Linked DNA regions of Homo sapiens: all the other regions are linked to region 1. The links are contacts of gene promoters, found by promoter capture Hi-C in blood cells and fetal thymus (Javierre and others, 2016). All regions are on one chromosome and are shown on one strand. Each heading gives the region's core, a stretch centred on a gene start or on the middle of the fragment in contact. The rest is flanking DNA. Distances are from core to core; before and after follow the strand shown.

Region 1 (4,674 bases), core at 751-3,250:
TAAATATAACCTTACTGAATGTTACAAATTGGATGCAATAGCTAAGTCTCTTCAAGTACACAGTAACAGTTCTACAGTCCACAGCATGGAGGATGAGGGTAAAGATTAGTAAGTACACTAATAAATTGAGGTCTTTAAAATTAAAACTATTTTTCAGTGGTGTTGCTGCATTTAGTTACAAAAACACTTGGTTACACAAATGTACCTTAGGATTCTGAAAACCGTAACAAAAAGCTTTTGATATAGTAGTCCCTCTTGAGTAGAAACTAGACGCACTCGGTATCTAAGAAAAGTATACGAAATGGCACAGGTGTAAGCCTAGACACTGCTGGTAGTTATCACGCTGGAGGCAAATACTATACAGTCCACATCTGCAACCTAATTTTGCTTCAGCATCCCCAGAGACTTCGAAAATATTTCTTTGGGTAGGTTGCAAAACAGTGCTTCCTCTTTTATTCTCATCACCCCCATTACGATACAAAGCAACAGACAAGAAAAATCAAACTGCCAACTGTAAGGGCTTAAACACACACACAAAGCATCTTCTTTCTAGCTCCCGAATCGGTATTTATTCCACCTGTTTGTAAATCCATAATTCCACAATAACACAAACTGCCTGCTTAAAGAAAGGAAGGAAGAAAAGAAAAAGAAAGAAAAGAAATAAAGAGAAAGGCAAGTTAATGCTTTGGAGTCATTACTCTTCCACCTAGGCATGGGGGGAGGGGGATGGTACAAAAACAATGGATATTGAGGTGCTGGGGGAAAAATCGTCTTGCCCCAAAGCCTCTTGTGTTATGAGCCTGGGGAAGTCGGGGAAGAGTGAGACTACTTTTCCTCTCTCCCTAAAAGCTGTGCTATCACGGGGAGAGGTTGCCATCGGGCATGTTCTACGAGGCGGTCTCGAAGGGCTACAACTCGCTTCGCTAGGCAACACACCCAGAGCCGATCCAGCACTCTTCACTCAAGGGTTTTTAGGGAGAGGAGAACGGGAGAGCAAGGTGGACTCCAGGGAGGGGGCGAGAAGAGACCCCACCCTGTATGACCGCCGCTGCGCCCGGGCCCTCGCCAACGATTTACACGACTCGGGGCGCCCTGCGGACTGGGCCCGGGGGCCCAGGGAGCCGAGAGGAGAGAGACTGTCCGCCGGGGGCCCCCGGCCCGCGCCCTCGCGCCGGCTCGCCGTCGCCCAGGCGCTGTCCGGGCCGCCCGCCGCCGCCGCCGCAGGCCCGGCCCCGGCCGCTGTCACACCCGACCGCCTTCCTCTCCGCGCCGGGCTGCAGGCTCCCACGCGAGCCGGCTCCAAGGGCCCCGCACTCCCGGAGACAGCAACCAGGAAAGCGGCGGCGGCGGCGCCTCCCAGGGCCCCGGCCCCTCGGGCCTCGCCCCGGCGCTGCCGGCTCGCGCCTGTCAGGGCGCACGGGGCCTCCCCCTACCGACAGCCAGCCCGACTGCCCGACGGACAGGAAGGCAGGCAGGAAGAACCGACCAACAGACACCCTCCGCCTCATCGGCCCCGAGTTACCGTCAGGAGCCCCGACTCCGCCATCCTCCTCGCTCGCCCTCCTTCCTCCTCTTCCTCCTCCTCCTAAGAAGCGACGCTGCCCAACCGCCGCCCCCCGCCCGCCCCTCCCCCACTCGCCCCGCCCCGCCCGCCCCGCCACTACTCTCGCTCCAGCCTCCCCGCCCCACCCCTCTGCCGTGGGCCCGTCACTCGCTAGGCAAGAAAAATGGGCGGAACCGGGGCAAGAGAAGCTGCCCAATCAGAGACGGGCAGTGCCGCCAGCTTCTCTCTCTCCGCCCTTGTCCTTTCCTCAGTTCCTCTACGCCGTCTCCCGCCCACTGGGCGCCTCTGGCTAGCCGGGCTACAGAGTAAGCCTCCAGCAGGGTAGAGTGACAACTCCCCGATCGGAAGTTACTGTTGAAGCTAAGGCGGCCATAACTGATAATGGCAAAAGGAGATTCCTGGCTTCCTGTTTCCAGGGTGACGTAGATTTTTTTCCTTCGCCAGTCTCACCGTTACCCGGGGCAACAGCTGAGCCGTCTGGGAAGGGATGCATCTGTAAGTAAGCCCAAAGAGGTACCGTGGGTGACCACACATCCCATGTTAGACAAGTTAATTCATACTCCGGATTACACGTCCAGTTTCCTGGCCCTTATTTTACTGAGACGTCTGGTCACTTACGGAGATGGACAACAGTTTAGGGCTCCGAAATTCCCTCTCCTGCCCGGAAGTTGCATTTGGCACTTCCGAATTGGGTCATGGCGGAAGGGTGTTAATAGCCTGGCCGCCCGTGCCCCAGGGAATGCTTATTTTTGACCTTAGTTGCAAAGTGAGGTGAGTCCGTGGACCCCAACCAGTGGGCCGGACCCGGGCCGGACGGTCCCTGTGGGACAGAGCGCTGAAATGGCGAGCGGGGCTCAGGGCCGCTTCCGTTGGAAGGCGGTTTTTTTCCGGGCTGGCCTGGCGGCGGCCCGCCCCCGTGAGGCTCCCTGTGGGGTGAGGCCGCTCTACAGGCCGCCCTAACCCAGCCAGAGGCAGCCCGGCCGGGAGGACCCCAGCGGGGAATGGGCGGGGACCTCGGGGCGGAGCTCCTAACTCCGGCAAAACGGAGCTCTTGACCACGCCTCCGCAAGTTCCTATTAAGTACTTTCACTCCTTGGCCTTTGGAGGGAGGAGAATTCGGGAACTTCAGAAAATCATTTTCCACCTTCACCTATAAAAGGAAAAGATGAGCCCCTACCACCAGGGCAGGACCTCAATCTTTTTCCCCTGCCACCTGCCTTCCCATTCTGATTTTTCCCCCCTTTCCGCGTCTCTCCTTTGAGTCTTTGTAAGCTTTGACTGCGGTTCTGGTGGTGGGATTCCTGCAGGTCTACAGTTTCTTAAACAACGTGTTGAAGATTTTTGAAAATACTGTATTGCTTTTATATGGCCCTTTACAAAGTTATCATACATTATCTTGTAGTTTCTTCTGTATGCTTGAGTCAAGAACTCTAAGTCATCTTGGTAATACCGGGTTGGATGCTTAAAGCTGCAGCAAAAAGACCAGAACTTTCAGGTAAAATTGAAAATGGTTAATATCCAGCCAGTCAACAATACAGATGCAAACCTACCTTCTCGACTTAATTTCTGCTTCCTTAGTACTTACACGCCAGCCAAAATGAACTACTCTTGTTTCTTTGCTGTTAATTACTGAAATCTGTTGTAGCAGTCACCTTTTGTGATTCTGTATCTGATTCTGTTACCCGTGGAGATGTGTTTCCAGATTCTTCCCAGCAGGAAGTAATTTCCTCTGAGTTTAGCATTTTTTGTACATCTTTTATGACAATCAGTATGTTATATATATATAATAGCGCTTATGTTTTTAGCTTCACTACCATGTCTGCACCTAAATAGAATGGTTTGTATCAGATTCGTCTTCCCGTCATTTTCACCATGCACATGATATTATTTTGGTAAATACTTACTGAAAGTTTGAATATATCGGGTGTCTCTTGGATGCCCAAGACACTTCCAGCCAAGTTTTAGAGACCTTCAATTTATCAGAAATTCAGCTGAGCGCCTGCTACTCAATCTTTGTTTTACGTTTCCCCTGTGAAGTCTTTCTGACATGATTTTTTTCCCCAGTGTTTTATTATGAAAGTGTTCATATATTTAAAAGCTGAAAGAAATAATTTAATGAATATTCATGTACCCATCATCTATATGCAGCAGTTAACATTTTGCCATTTTTTTTCATTCCTCCCCACTTTTTCATTGTCATAAAAAGTTGCAGACACTTATTGTTAGGCAAGACACCCTTAAGATTTCCAGCATGAATTTCCTAAGAATTTTGAAGTTCTCCAGCAAAACACAATATCATTATTTCAGCTGTTTTGTAACTTTTAAAATCTAGGCCAAGTGCTAATTTTCCTAATTTACCCAGGAATATCTTTTATACCTTCTCCTTCCCAATCCTGCAAAAAAAAAAAAAAAAAAAAAAAATCAGGATCCAGTCAAAATTTTTCTTTAGCTTTAATGTAGTAGAGTTCCCCCATCTTTTTTCCCCCTGTGACATTGGCATTTTGAAGAGTTCAAGGCAGGAGTCTTTTTGGAAATGGGCCCCTCTTTTTTCTTCTTGTAAACCAGAAGTTAGTCTAGAGGCTTAAGCTGAACATTTTTTTTGCAAGGATATGTCACAGTATTCACACTTTTCTAGTCATGACTAAGCCTTCTCAAACGCAGCTATACGCACTTTGCCGTGAGTTGCTGGTTAAATCCATCTCACTTCTTAGCATGCTTACCCCTCTCCAGTGTCCTACAAAGAAGAGGGTAGCATTTAATCCTGTGTGTATAGAGTATGTGTTAGTGCCTTGGGTTGGCAACATTGACTACCTTTAATAAAGTGTTGCTGCTACTTTGCCTATTCTTGGAGCTGATGCAATGACTTTCTGCAGTAAAGTGTACTGATGTCAGCATAGTTTATGAGTGTCAACTCCTGGCACCCTGCAGACATTGTTGAAAGATGTGTGGGCCCTGCAATTCAAATACAGATGAATCTTGATGTTATCAAAGCAAATACCAAGGCAACTGTTGGCCATCTGGTCACATTCCAATTTAGGCAATGTTATTTTTCTCACTGAAATTCTCATGCAAGTCTTAATTGGTCCTGGTGTTTTTATGATAGCTTTTTG
Region 2 (4,674 bases), core at 1,498-3,997, 1.5 Mb before region 1:
ACTCCAGAGAGCCTGGGTGGGGCCAGACATTGGCCAGTTGAGCTGAGTAGCATTTATCAGGAGATCTCATGTTAAGTCAAATACCAAGAGCCTCTTAAGTCAGTCCATTAAGATAGCATAGGATAGTTGAGTCACCCACAGGATGTGACCCCAGAAGTGACAAATCCCACAGGAGCTCAGGTCGATAGAGTCAACCTTGATCCACCACTGGGCTTCAAGTGAGTCACAGTCCAAATCCCGACCCCGGGACAACTTGTGTCAGTAACACCCCCAAAGGGCATCCCAGGCCTGCTGCTGACCAAGTATATTATGACAGAACTGGGGTAAGAAGAAGCAGTGTCAGAAGTCCACTGGATCTGATAAGGGGGTCTGTAAAAAGATAGGCCGGACAAAGTGCTAGGACCCTGTCACCTGTGCCAGGGTGAGGCAAGAGGTTGGGAAAGCAGACTTCTTGCCTTAGTTTTCTGCAGAATCAGCCCTTGCACTGCCTGTCCCAACCAGTGGTCAAGGGTCAACAGTTTCAAAGTGCAGGCAACAAGCTTTCTTGTCAACGGTGTCATTGCCAGGGGCAAACTTTCAAGGTCGTGCCCTTCCAGGTACCAGAGCAACAGCTCCTCACTTACTACATGTGTAGCCCTGGGGACAGTTACTTAGAGTCACTGAGCATCAGTTCCCCGCCACTGTACACAGAAGGAGCAGGTGAAAATCGCTACTTAAAGGAGATGCTGTGTGTAGAACAGTTGGTATGCTGTCAGGCACATGGGAAGTCCTCAATCAAATCTAGCTCCCCTTTCCTTCCCTTTTCCTCAGTTTTCACATCCTTGCCAATATCAGATGTTCTATTACGAGATGTCCCAAAAGAAAAGAGATGACCACGGTCTTGAACGATTACTGCCCCTCCACTTCTGTGCAAAGGTTTTAACAAGCCCTCATCTCTTTTTTTTTTTTTTCTTTTTTTTGAGATGGAGTTTCACTCTTGTCACCCAGGCTGGAGTGCAGTGGCGAGATCTCAGCTCACTGCAACCTCCGCCTCCTGGGTTCAAGCGATTCTCCTGCCTCAGCCTCCCGAGTAGCTGGGATTACAGGCAGCTGCCACCACGCCCAGCTAGCTTTTGTATTTTTAGCAGAGATGGGGTTTCACCATGTTGGCCAGGCTGGTCTCAAACTCCTGATTTCAAGTGATCTGCCTGCCTCGGCCTCCCAAAGTGTTGGGATTACTGGCATGAGCCACTGCGCCCGGCCAACAAGCCCTCATTTCTATTTAAACAGAGCACTTCTAGTTGTAGGGAACCATGGCCTGTCTCTGACCTAGCTTTACCCCAGACCTCAAATCCTCAACTTGAGCCACTCGCAACCTCACAACTCTTAGAATAGAATGGCCCATGAAGACTGGGAGATCCACCAGCTTCCCCAAAGAAGGCTAATAGTGTGGCCTGACCACAGCATTGCACGGGCTGTCTGACCTTCCAAACTCCAGATCTCATGTATTTATTCAAACAATGAGTTGAGAACCTAGGAAGTGTCAGGCCCTGCGCCAGGGAGGACAAGTTGGTGAGAGAGTCCCTTTCCGACCTCAGGATGTACAGACATAGAGGGGAGAAATAGACCCAGATGCATTTCCAGCAGAATGTGATAAGCAGTGATGGCTGGACTCATGGCTGCTGGGGTTACGTCACCCTTGCTTGATGCTGCCAGGCACAAGAGTCACCTCTGACTGCACTCCAGCTGAGGGTCTGCTCATCTGCTGAGGAGGCATATGAGAGACAGACAGGAGCAGACACTGTATTCCTGGTTTCTAAGAAGCTGGCAAATCCTATAGGCCAGGTGCAGTGGCTCACACCTGTAATCCCAGCACTTTGGGAGGCCTAGGCAGGCAGATAACTTGAGGTCAGGAGTTTGAGACCAGCCTGGCCAATATGGTGAAACCCTGTCTCTACTAAAAGTACAAAAATTATTTGGGCATGGTGGTGCATGCCTGTAATCCCAGCTACTCAGGAGGCTGAGGCAGGAGAATTGCTTGAACTGGGGAGGCAGAGGTTGCAGTGAGCCAAGATGTTGCCACTGCACTCAAGCCTGGGAGTCTAGGTGACAGAGTGAGGCTCCTCCAAAAAAAAAAAAAAAAAAAAAAAAAAAAAAACAAGAAGAAGAAGATTGTCTTGATTAAATATAAGAGTACCTACTGTGTACTGGTACTTCCCTGGCTTCATCTTCCCTCTCTCCATTCATTTCTCTCTCCTTCCTCCATCTCCAGCCTCCATGTAGTATCTGTGGTCTCACTATAGGTGGATGGTTAGGTATGCAATGACACGCTGATGTTGTTGTTGGTGTCTTTGCCCTCAAAAAATTACAATATAGCCTGGGAGAGACTATTTTAGGTCAGGCTAGGCTGAAATATTCTGTTTGGTCTGGATTAAAAAGTGTTTTCTCTTTTTTAATAATTAAATTTGAATGCATTTATCTGGGGTATGCCTGCTCTGAATTTTGCTAAAGTTTCCACCATTAGCATCTTATTACACACCATCTACTTTACTTCTCTATATTACTTGCCTGTCCTATAAGCATTTGCACTTACACTTCTTGTTTTATTTAGGTTTTTGTTCCTTTTATTATGCCAAATACACAAAAGATGGCTATAAAATTTTACACCATGCCTCTTTCAAGACATGTTCTGTGTTTAACCTTGAATACTGATCAATCGGAGGGGACTACCACAGAGTGACTCCATATCAGAATATGAAGGGAGAAATAAACAAAACCAATTACTCCTTTTTTAAAAGAAAACTAAGTCAGTTTTCAATGTTTTTTTATTTGTTTGTTTGTGTGTTGTTTTTGAGCCAGAGTCTTGCTCTGTCATCCAAACTGGAGTGCAGTGGTGCCATCTCGGCTCACTGCAACCTCCGCCTCCTAGGTTCAAGCAATTGTCCTGCCTCCTGAGTTGCTGGGATTACAGGCGTACGCCACCACGCCAAGCTAATTTTTGTATTTTCAGTAGAGATGGGGTTTCGCCATGTTGGCCAGGCTGGTTTCTAACTCCTGACTTCAGGTGATCCACCCACCTCAGACTCCCAGAGTTCTGGGATTACAGGTGTGAGTCACTGCGCCCGGCCTTAACTTTATTTTTTAAGACTCTGCCTCTGATATAGAATACTAATCACCTACACATTGGAGCTATAGATTCAATTCTACCTTTCAGACCACCAAAAAAAGGCTGATATCTCAGAAGGTACCAAGCCCCGGTGGTAGAGTCCCTTTCCAGTGCTTATTCCCTGAGGGTCTCCGGTGGTAGAGTCCCTTTCCAGTGCTTATTCCCTGAGGGTCTCCGGTGGTAGAGTCCCTTTCCAGTGCTTATTCCCTGAGGGTCTCCAGTGGTAGAGTCCCTTTCCAGTGCTTACTCCCTGAGGGTCTTTGAGATTCACCTTAGGACCCTCAGGGAGTGGGCATTGGGAAGGAAGTACTTAGGAATTAAGCAGCACCTGAGACTTAACCTGTGGCCTTACTTCCTAAAATACACTCAGCTCCATTCATCTGTCTCTCCCACCCCATTGGTCTCATTCATCAGTCTTACCCAACATAAAATTGAGGGCAAACCCCCAGCCCACCTCAGGGGAGCTATGCTGGATGCTCAGACCCACAAAAAGAGGTCTCTGTTTTGGTTCACCTTCCCCAAGAGAGTCGAGAGAAGGAAAGTGAGCCCCATGCATGCCCCACATCCTTCCTTCCCGTTGCTCCTCCTGACACAGGGTCTGAAGGCATGACCGAGACCAGGAGGGAGACAGCATGATGTGCCCGTGGAACTCAGCCGGCCCTTGATTCTAAGTCGCTTAAAGAAAGTCGGGGGTCAGGATGCCCCCTTGGCCTCTGTCACACCCTCACAAGACCCCCTTGCTGAATAACACCCCCTCGATGGTCCCCTTACCCTGCGAGGGGGCCGCATCTCTCAGTGCTTCTAGTGAATGGGGGCTTCCCGGCTCTGAGTTCTTCCTGCCACACGAGTCCCTGTCCTTCTTCCCTCGCTCGTGGTTCCTCCAGAGACAGGGTGGCTTCAGAGCGTCCATGCAGGCAGAAGGCCGGCCCAGAGTGTCCCCAGTTCTGCCCTGCTCTGAGCTGTCCCGAGTCAGGCCATGTCAGGCTTTCTAACGTGCTCGGGGACTTCACTTCCTGGTTTTAATTTTTTTTTTCACAACTGAAAGTGGAAGTGTTCTGACCAGGAGGGGAGAAGCTGCCAAAGCTACCCTGGCTCCGTGTCAAAGCCTTTCACCTCAGCCCCTAAGGGCCGACACAAAAGCCAGCTTGCCTCAACACAGTTGACCCTGCCCTCCTGTGGCCTATCATCTTTCAACTAAGATGAAAACAAACAAACTAAAATGACTTGAGGTGCCCCCTCAGATCAGAAGCCTCACAGAGGCAGAGGTGACGCTGTTCCCTGCTGGATTCGGAGGACAGGAAAGTCTGGCTAGAGGGTACCTCAGCCCTCAGACCCACACAAACACCTTCTACCCCGCCTCTCTCCAGTCGCCAGAGCTGCCTGCCTTGGTCTCTGAAGAAGTTCTGGCAAAGCCAAGAAAATAAGCAAGTCAGGAACGACAGGGCTGTGAGTCGTTCAATTGGCATGGTTTCTTTCCCTCTGATACAGTCACACCTCAAAACTTAACTTAAAAATCGATTCTTTCGCCT
Region 3 (4,674 bases), core at 743-3,242, 1.3 Mb before region 1:
CAGGAGATCGAGACCGGCCTGGGCAATATGGTGAAACCCCAACTCTACTAAACATACAGAAAAAAATTAGCTGGGCGTTGTGGCGGGTGCCTGTAATCCCAGCTACTCGGGAGGCTGAGGCATGAAAATTGCTTGAACCTGTGAGGAGGAGGTTTCAGTGAGCTGAGATCACGCCACTGCACCACTGCACTCCAGCCTGGGTGACAGAGCGAGATTCCATCTCAAAAATAAAATAAAATAAATTAAAATAAAAGGGTTTAAAAAATAAGAAAAATTATTTACCTACGTATTTGTGGTTTCTTAAGCTCTTAATTCCTTTGCATAGATTCAGAATTCCATCTGACAGCATTTTTTTTTTGCCTGAAAGACTTTCTTTAACATTGCTTATAGAACGGTCCTGCTGGTGATGAATTCTTTTGGCAATTCGATGTCAAAATATGTTTTTATTTTATTTTTTTGATATATATAAAAATATATAAAATGTACATACCATATATTAATATAAAAAGAACTCTTGATTGATAGGTTCTTCATTCAGTACTTCAGATGCTGCTCCACCATCTTCTGGTTTGCATTTTTCTGATGTGAAATCTGCTGTCATTCTTATCTTTGTTCCTCTGTACAGTAATGTCTTTTTTTTTCTCTCTGATAGCTTTTAAGATTTTCTCTTTATCAGTGGCTTTAGGCATTTTGATTGTGATGTTTCTTGGTATGGTTTTCTTCATGTTTCTACTGAGTTTGTTGAGCTTTTTGGGTTTATAAGTTTATAGTTTTGGTCAAATTTGGAAAGTTTTCATCAATTATTCTTTCAAATGCTTTTTTCTGTCCTCCCTAATCTATTCTCACCTCATATTTCTCATTTTCTTCAGGGACTACAATTGCATGTATACTAGGCTCACTGATACTCTACTTTTACTTTCAGTATTTTTCTTCCCTTAGTGTTTCATTTTGGATAGTTTCTATCACAATGCTTTCAAGTTTTTTTTTGTTTGTTTGTTTTTGTTTTTGAGACAGAGTCTCGCTCTGTCACCCAAGCTGGAGTGCAGTGGCACAATCTTGGCTCACTGCAAGCTCTGCCTCCTGGGTTCACGCCATTCTCCTGCCTCAGCCTCCCGTCAGGTTTTTTACTGTTTCTTTTTTAGTAATGTCTAACCTATTAATCCTGTGTGTGTGTGTGTGTGTGTGTGTGTGTGTGTGTGTGTGTGTGTCTGTGTGTGTGTGTTAGGGTGTTAAAAATCTTAGATGTGGTTTTATTATCTCCTAGATGTTTGGTTTGTGTCTTTTTTTTTTTTAAAGATTTTTCACATCTCTACTTCCCATGCTCAGTTTATTTTTTCTACTTGTTGAAAACATTGAATACAGTCATAATTACTTTCTTAATGTCCTTGTTCTCTTATTTTATCATCTCTGTCATTTCTGGGATGATTTCAATTGGTTGATTTTTTTTTCTCATTTCCTGCTTCTTTTCGCATGCCTGATAATTCTGTTTGGATTCCAGATGTTGCAAATTTTACCTTGTTAGGTGTTGGTTATTTTTAATTTCCTGTAAATATTCTTGTGCTTTGCTCTGGGACACTTTGTTCTCAAAAACGGTTTAATCCTTTGGTGGCTGGCTTTTAAGATTTCTAAGATAGAATCAGAGTAGCTTTTACATTAGAGCTAATTTTGCCCCACTACTGAAGCAAAACCATTTGAGTTGTGAATTATGAGGTTTTCCAGTCGGGGTGCCAGGATCAGGCACTATTTCTGGTCCTGTATAATCACTGGGTATCTTTCTACTCTGCCTTGTGGGAGCAGAATTAATTTCCTACCCTGTGCAAACTTTAGTAATTGCTCTCTCTTTTCTTCATACATGATTATTTCCTGCCCTTAGGTAGCTTCCTCACACACATGCTCTAATCAGCGGAAGACTGGAGTGAGATCTGTTGTAGATCTCCACAGCTCCTTCTTTCTCTGTGTAGCTTTCTCCTTTCTGATATACAACTCACAGTTCCAGCTGCTTTGGCCTCCCTGCTCTCCCAGTTCTATCTCTTCAACTCAGGGAGTCTGCCTAGCTCTTTTTGGCTGCTCCCTCTAGTTAGTAAATCAAGGCAATCATAGGGCTCACCTCATTTGTTTTCCCTCCTCAAGGACCACTGTCCAGCACAACGTTTAAAAGCCATTGTCTTATAAATGCCTGTTTGTTTTTGTTTTTAGTTGTTTTAGGCAGGAGAGTAAATTCAGTCCTGTTGCTCCATCTTAGCTGGCTAGACTGGATTGCTATAAATTTTAAACTATCTAAATAGTTGCATATATTTAGGGGGTACAAATCGATGTTATGACTTATGAATACAATGTGGAATAACTGAATCAAGCTAATTGACATATCCACCTCAAATACTTCTCAGTTTTCATGGTGAGAACTTTTGAAATGTACTCTTAGCGATTTTGAACTGTATAATACATTATTATTTACTATATTCACCATGCTGTGTAACATATAGTCCGAAGGGGGAAAAAAGCCCTTATTTCTCCTAACTGAGGCTTTTTATACTACAAGCCTTATTTGCTTCTTTTCATATCTCATTTTCCTCCTTAAAGGAAAAGGCACTCAGCCACTTTGGTAGAAATTACACAACATGGCCATTTGCAATCCCTGCCTCTCCCATTCGTAGTAAATCCTACATAGTCTTACAGATCTCATAAAAAGTCAGACCACACACATAACCTGATAGCCCACGCGCACATTCCCAACAGAGCCTGGAAGAGGGACAAGCTCCCGGATAAGCTGAATTTACACAAAGCAGAATGAGGTACCCACACACACTCACACACGCATGGCCTAGGCAGGGTAACCATCTGTCCAGGCGCTCACACACTATCTTTAGCCACACACAGGCACGCACACTCGAGTACACACATTACACCCTCGGATCCGCTCACGCTCCCTGAGGCTCGCAGGCCGGGCCCCGCCCCCGGCGCTGGCTAGCCGGCGGCCCCGCGTCAATGCCACGCGCCGGTTGCGTCATCAGGGTGCGCCACTGCAGCTGGCATTGGCCGGGACTGGAAGTGCGGGCTTCTGCAGCAGCCGAAGCTGGAGCTGCTAGGGTGCGAACTGCCAGGGCAGGTGTGGGCTGCGGGAGGCTACTCGGGCCGGGAGCGCCGGGACAAGTGCATGGAGGTGGTGCGACTCCTGCAAGTTGCTGGGGCAGTCGTGTCCCCTATTCCCTGACACCCGAGCTCCGGTCTTCTCCCTGAGAAATCGGTCGGGCTCGTGCAGGGGTGGGGATCAGGATTCATCTCTCCTGGGGAGACTGCGCTGGGGCATGGGTTCCCCTGGGTTGGAAGGAGTCCTTATGGACTCAGTCCCCTAAGTATCTGCACGCGCGGAGGCGCCGCCAGCCAGCCCGCCTGGGTCCCTAGGGAACATTGAGGCAGTAAGGGGTACTCTGAGAGCAGCCGGTATGCTGGAGATAATTAATGACAGCGTTACCATTGATTGGACTGAGCGCTCACTGTGTGTTACACACTGTGGTAGACCCTTTGTTTATATTATTCCGTCCTCTCAACAATCCAGGAGGTTAAGAGCTATCATTCTGCCCATTTTCCAGATGGGAAAACTAAGGCATAGAAGTTAACCAACTTATGGTAATAAAAAATCACACAGATGGTAAGCAGTGGAAGATTTAAACCTCACAGCTGGTCTTCCAGCCTCTGTCCTTTTCAGATCCTCTAGTCAGCTTCTCTCAGCGCATGCTGCTGGCTGGTGCCTCTGGGATATTGCTTCTTTATTACTCCTTGACCTAGAGCGAACTGTGCGGAGGGAGGAAGTGCAAAACGTGGACCTCCTGTTGGCACAAACGAGCCTCTTTGTCCTCTCCTCATCCTCTCTTCACTTCATTTTCTCAGGCAGCAGCGGCTCCCCTGTTGTATGGACATTCTGCACCCGAAACTGATAGCTGAGTCCTGAAGTTTTATGTTATGAAACAGAAGAACTTTCATCCCAGGTGCATTGGTTTATTCTCTCCCCTAGCCTGTTATGTTAGATTGTACTTATGTTAAATTTTTAAGGACATAGGTGGTTATGCCGAGAATAACAGTGACTGTAGCCAACCCATGTGGGGATTGTAAAGAAATTGGAATATGCCTTCCAAAGGAACACTGTTAATCTAGACATGACCTTTCAGGATTTTAAAGGAATAATTTTAGGCCAGGTGAGAAACAGCCAAAAGCAAAAATAATGTGAGGCTAGAGATTATGTTTGAAAGTTTTTATATTTTGGATTAATATCTATTCTAGGAGTTTACTCTTAGTGAATCTTTTTCCTTAGGGTAGAAAAAAGCTTATCGAAAAGGATGAAAACTTATACATCAGATATTTCAAAATAGTGTGCTTTTCTTTCAGAGCTTTGTAGCTTTGTATTACCTTTGTATTAAAAGTGAAAATGTTCTTTTAGGACATCACAAGAAAATTAAGATCTTAATTTAAGTACGGGAACTTAAGGGGTGCCCTAATTGCCTTAATTAAATAAACATGCCTTCCTTCTGCCAGGAACTATTCAATTAACAAAAATGAAATAAGAATAAGCTCTTATTTTCATTTGCAAATGACTATTCATAGCTATTTTGTTTGGATACAATTCATAGCTATTTTGTTTGGATACTATTTTGTTTGCATACTATGTTTTGTTTGGAT
Region 4 (4,674 bases), core at 1,199-3,698, 1.0 Mb after region 1:
ACCATAAAGAAAGAACGGGCAGATGTGAAAAAGAACCAAATAGAACTTGTGTAAGGAAAAAACATTGAAAATAAGTCTTCTTAGTCTAGTTAAATAGGAGGTGTGAGAATTTATGAACTAGAAGCTGCAACTGAGAAGGTTAACCTGCCATGGGGATGTTTTACACCTGCAAGTTTTACATCAAACTTTTATTTATTCTGCCACTGATAATGGGGGTGAAAGTTCTTCTGACTCATGTTAGAGAACTGCTAAGTTAAGCGATGCCTCCTCTAACTGAGCCTTGCCACGTTTATTGTGGTCAAAGTCTGCAACTTCCTGTTCTTTCTCTCCTTAAGGGTGAATCACCAGGATTTTCAACTGAGAAATTTAAGAATAATTGAACCTAACGAGGTGACACACTCAGGAGACACAGGTGTGGAAACAGGTAATAATTTTGTCTGGAAATTAGATGGAACATCTGTAAAGGATTTTAGATCTCCACCCCAACCCCAGGTTGGGTGAGAAGAAGAGGGTAAGGAATTAGTAACAGATCATGACTGGGGGTTAGTATCTGGAAGTTAAAAACCATTTTATTTTTTGGCTTCCTAAGTGGTTGGTTACTGTTTCTATATATTTACCATTTTTTTTTTTTTTTTTTGAGACGGAGTCTCGCCCTTGGTCACCCAGCCTGGAGTGCAATGGCGTGATCTCGGCTCACTGCAACCTCCGTCTCCCGGGTTCAAGCGATTCTCCTGCCTCAGCCTCCGGAGTAGCTGGGATTACAGGCGCCCGACACCACGCCCAGCTAATTTTGTATTTTTAGTAGAGATGGGGTTTCTCCATGTTGGCCAGGCTGGTCTTGAACTCCCGACCTCAGGTGATCTGCCCGCCTTGGCCTCCCAAAGTGCTGGGATTACAGGCATGAGCCACTGCGCCTGGCCATTACCATTTTTTTTTAAGGTAGTAAGTTAGAGAATTACAACTTTTTTTTTGTTGTTTGTTTTTTTCGTTTTCCATTTTTGTCAGAGTGGTGGTGGTGGAGAAGGAGATAGGTTATTATGGAAAATGTTCTCTATTTCTCTAATATAGTCCTTCATTATCTTAGAAATTAGCTTTCAATTTTGATCATAAGATTGCAAAATGAGAAAAGCTTGTAATATATTATTGTCCTTTATAAATTGAGTGTGCATTTAGGAAAGTCTTTTTGGGAAATATTTCTTGGCTGTCCCTTCTCCCCAGAACTGGTTAATTGTCTGATGGGTTGCCAGAAACCTGAATTCTGAAAAGTGGTGTATTACTGTATTTCTATCCCAGTAAGCCAGTACTGCTCTAACGACTACTAAGGAGAACCATGTGTTTTTTTTTTTTTTAGCTGACTGAAAAATTGATCTCTTGAAGTACATAAGAAACCATGCCCGTCTAATCTCTGTTTGGAAGATCAGTGCTATAATTGCATGCAATTTTAGATCCTTTTTCTTTAAAAAATATAGATGTATCCAACACATTTTGGACCATATTAGGAGGTAGCAGAGGAAGGAGGAAAAAGAGAAAGTAAAGAAAGGAAAAAAGTGATGGAATCATTAAACTTAGAGTTGGAAGATAACTTCTTTTTCTTTTTGTAATGTATGAGGAAATAGAGGTTAGGTAGCTTCAGTTGCCTGAGGTTGTAGATCCCAGCTGGAAACTGGAGCTCACTTGTTTTGCTTCTGTTGGTCTTAGAACACTTTAAGGCTCTATTATGTCCCCCAGCTAATATGGTGTAATAGAGCATGGACTTGGGAATTGCATAGACCTTGAGTCCCGGTTCCTGATGAACCAGCTGACTTTGGGCAAGTACTTAACTCCTTTTAACTCCTGTTCCTTTATGTGTAAAATGAGAATAGTGAAACCTCCCTTGGAGGATTGTTGTGAGAATTAGCCACTAATGTATGTAAAGCCCTTAGCGTTCCCTCAGCTGTGCAACAGAGAAACAAACCACTACCTCTAAAGCTATTGATGCTGGAAGAGCATCTGTGCCCGTGTTAAGATGCTGAAATTGGAGTAAACTGGCCCCTTCCATTCTTATAACGAGACTTGGGAATTCCAGCTGGTGCTTCAGATCCAGATTCAAATATTTCTTGAGCTCCTGCAGTGTAATAGATGCTGTGCATGGTGCTTTCACACACATTATCATGTTTAATTTGCCTGGCCACCAGTGAGGTAAGTATGGTGTGCTTTTCATGTACAATCAGTGAAAAATCTTGTTTGTGATAAAGGCTGAAGGTGTGGGAACTTATTTCTAAAAGCAGACCTGTATATGCAAGACTTTTAAGTGAGTCATTCTCTGTAAGGCATAGTTTGAAAATACCTGGCAGTGTATGGGCTAATGTTTCATCGTGGACTAGGCCTGTTGCTCTTGGCTTCCTACTTTGCTGCATACTTTGCTTAGCTCTTGGCTGTTTCTAACATTTCTGAAAAGTCATAGGATGTGGAATGAGCAGATGTCATAATACAGCACCTTGCAAGAGCCTATCTGTCACTGAAGATTCATTACTGTTCATTGAGACTGAAAAGATCATAGATCCAATGTTGTGAATTTGATTTAGCCATCTTTGAGTGAGCATATGTATATGTTAATTGTAGATACATGGATACAGAGATGACATCATCCCTGCCTTCCGGAGAAGTGGTATACACACCTGTTTACACAATTTATCACATTGCATTTATGGTTAGTTGTGTGTCTAACTCTAATAACATTAAACATTTACATGACATTTGTTATGTGCCAGGTACTGTTTCTAAGTGCCATATGTATAGTAACTCATTTACTCCTTATACAAATTATGAGGGTCATTAGCTACAACTTTCACTTCCTCCATCTTGGCTGCCTTTTCAACCAGTGCCACCTCAATGGCTAGGACTTATATAATTGCACCAACTTTGTTCTCTCCTTAGCTCCAGCTGCTCACTCATTCAATCACTTTCCATCACCTGTTTTCCTTGTGGGTACAGCTGCCTCAACCACCAGGGCCCACTGTATTCACTTCAGTGGTAGCTGCCTCACTGCCTCAGCCATTGCCTGTTGCTATCTTCTTCACCTTCACTGTTGCTGCCACTGCCCCTTACCACATCCTAACTATTGGTTATGGTATTGGGACTTCTTTCATCATGTCTAATATTGATGATAAAGAAGTAGCTGCATTGCACCCAGAACATGAATGTGATCGGCCTGAAGGATGAGGAAGTAGGAAGAGGGAAAGTGTTGAGTGTTGATGGGGGTAGGTAGCATTGTGGAGGGGAGTGTCAGTGAGACTGATAAAGCTGATGATTCTGTGGGGGTCTGATATGCCAGTCACCAGGGGAAACGTGATGATGTGATGGTGGTAGTGATGAAGATCAGAATGTGGGAATGAGGAGGCAGGTTGTGATGACCAGGAAGCAGAGGATGTTTTTGAACAGATCCAGTTTGTTTTTGTTGGTTTTTAGTTTGCAGTTGAAGATTTTGTGCTCATGATTGGTTGTGTTAACGTTATTGATGAAGTTAGTGACTGATAATATTGATACTACAATCAGCACTAAACACCCAGTCAGTGCCACCAAAATCCTTACGTCAGAATGTACCTGAATGGAAGGCAGAGTCTATAAAGAAATAAATGATCTTGAAAGAAAGTATATTAGACTCTTATATTTTTGCATTTTAAAACTCCTGAAGCCAAGGCTGTACTCCAGACCAGTTAAGTCAGATGTTTCCCGGATAGTCCTAATGTGCAGCCAGTGTTGAAGTCCTGCTCCTAAAGAAAGCTTCATTTTTGCTTGACTGTTTTTAAGAATGATAACTTGCTCAGAAATATGGTTTGAAAACACAATAAATCTATTCTGAAGCTCCTGAAAGATATCAGAGTAAAATTTTTAGATGCTGGCAAGCTTGGGAGATCACAATGGGCTTTATTTTGAACCCCCAGTGGAGGTGTTGACATATAAACTTGGATCAGACCAGATACTTCCGATCCCTTTTTCTCTGATAGGTGAGAAATTATAGGCCCAGTAGATTAGACGAAAGGATAGCTGGATGTGGTGGTGTGTACCTGTAGTCCCATTTACTTGGGAAGCTGAGGCGGGAGGATCACTTGAACCCAGGAGTCCAGCCTGGACAATGTAGTAAGACCCCGTCTCCCCTCAGAAAAAAAAAGAATGCCCCTCTGAACAATATTCAGAAGCAGGTGTAATGCAAGGAACATGGATATGCTTGAGTTATGAGTAGGACAGTTTCCATTGACTCTTCCTTTGAGTACTTCTCTCTTCTGAGACTCCTGAGGGTGAGCCCTAAGGCCTGCTTTTGAAGTTGCCCTTGCTGCAGATGATAAGTGGGGCACTTTTTCTAGCTCAAGATCAGTATGGTACCCCATAGGGGATTCTATTGGAGATCACCATAACAACTGAGGCATAGAAGCCTAAGGTGCTGGTGATGATGAAAAGGAAGAAGCAAATGAGTATGTTAAAGAAAAAGATCCAAAAAGGACCTATGCCCAGCAGGGTTTAAGCTACAGCAAGTCAGGATGTCAGTCGTTGAAGATCACCTCATGTAATTGTCCTGATTTAACTCTGTGTTACTTACAGAGTTATGTTACAATGTTTTTGACTAAGTAAAATATTTTTGTTAAAAAATGAGTTGGCAAACTCCAAAACACCAAAAACACCAAATGAGTTGGAATC

The links. Contacts are between HindIII fragments. The CHiCAGO score rates a contact against its expected background, and 5 or more counts as called.
Region 2: a contact is called between a fragment that was not itself captured here and the fragment with the promoter of BBIP1 in region 1, in 1 of 17 cell types (erythroblasts). The highest score is 5.2, in erythroblasts.
Region 3: a contact is called between a fragment that was not itself captured here and the fragment with the promoter of BBIP1 in region 1, in 1 of 17 cell types (erythroblasts). The highest score is 6.3, in erythroblasts.
Region 4: a contact is called between a fragment that was not itself captured here and the fragment with the promoter of BBIP1 in region 1, in 1 of 17 cell types (monocytes). The highest score is 5.3, in monocytes.

Annotation. Positions count from the first base shown.
Region 1 is chr10:110,916,506-110,921,179 of GRCh38, reverse strand. BBIP1 (BBSome interacting protein 1) reads left to right here and starts at 2,000. Exons shown (of 4, transcript NM_001195305.3): 1 at 2,000-2,059; 2 at 2,967-3,059. The coding sequence starts at 3,023. It overlaps SHOC2 (SHOC2 leucine rich repeat scaffold protein), which reads right to left and starts at 1,576. Exons shown (of 9, transcript NM_007373.4): 1 at 1,523-1,576. RefSeq lists silencers at 1,117-1,206, 1,217-1,656, 2,507-2,666 and enhancers at 1,877-1,926, 1,947-2,146, 1,836-2,375. The HindIII fragment of the contact is 2,602 bases long and covers 237-2,838 here.
Region 2 is chr10:112,375,691-112,380,364 of GRCh38, reverse strand. The region is part of intron 1 of ACSL5 (acyl-CoA synthetase long chain family member 5); the gene reads right to left. Among named protein-coding and RNA genes, the nearest start is that of ACSL5, 3.9 kb to the right of the region's middle. RefSeq lists enhancers at 3,516-4,016, 4,039-4,258, 4,017-4,517, 4,399-4,548. The HindIII fragment of the contact is 4,411 bases long and covers 542-4,674 here.
Region 3 is chr10:112,182,106-112,186,779 of GRCh38, reverse strand. GPAM (glycerol-3-phosphate acyltransferase, mitochondrial) reads left to right here and starts at 3,015. Exons shown (of 22, transcript NM_001244949.2): 1 at 3,015-3,087; 2 at 3,889-3,986. RefSeq lists a silencer at 2,868-3,097. The HindIII fragment of the contact is 4,662 bases long and covers 1-4,323 here.
Region 4 is chr10:109,910,761-109,915,434 of GRCh38, reverse strand. XPNPEP1 (X-prolyl aminopeptidase 1) reads left to right here. Exons shown (of 21, transcript NM_020383.4): 2 at 336-424. Among named protein-coding and RNA genes, the nearest start is that of XPNPEP1, 10 kb to the left of the region's middle. RefSeq lists enhancers at 1,544-2,199, 2,546-2,595. The HindIII fragment of the contact is 2,633 bases long and covers 1,132-3,764 here.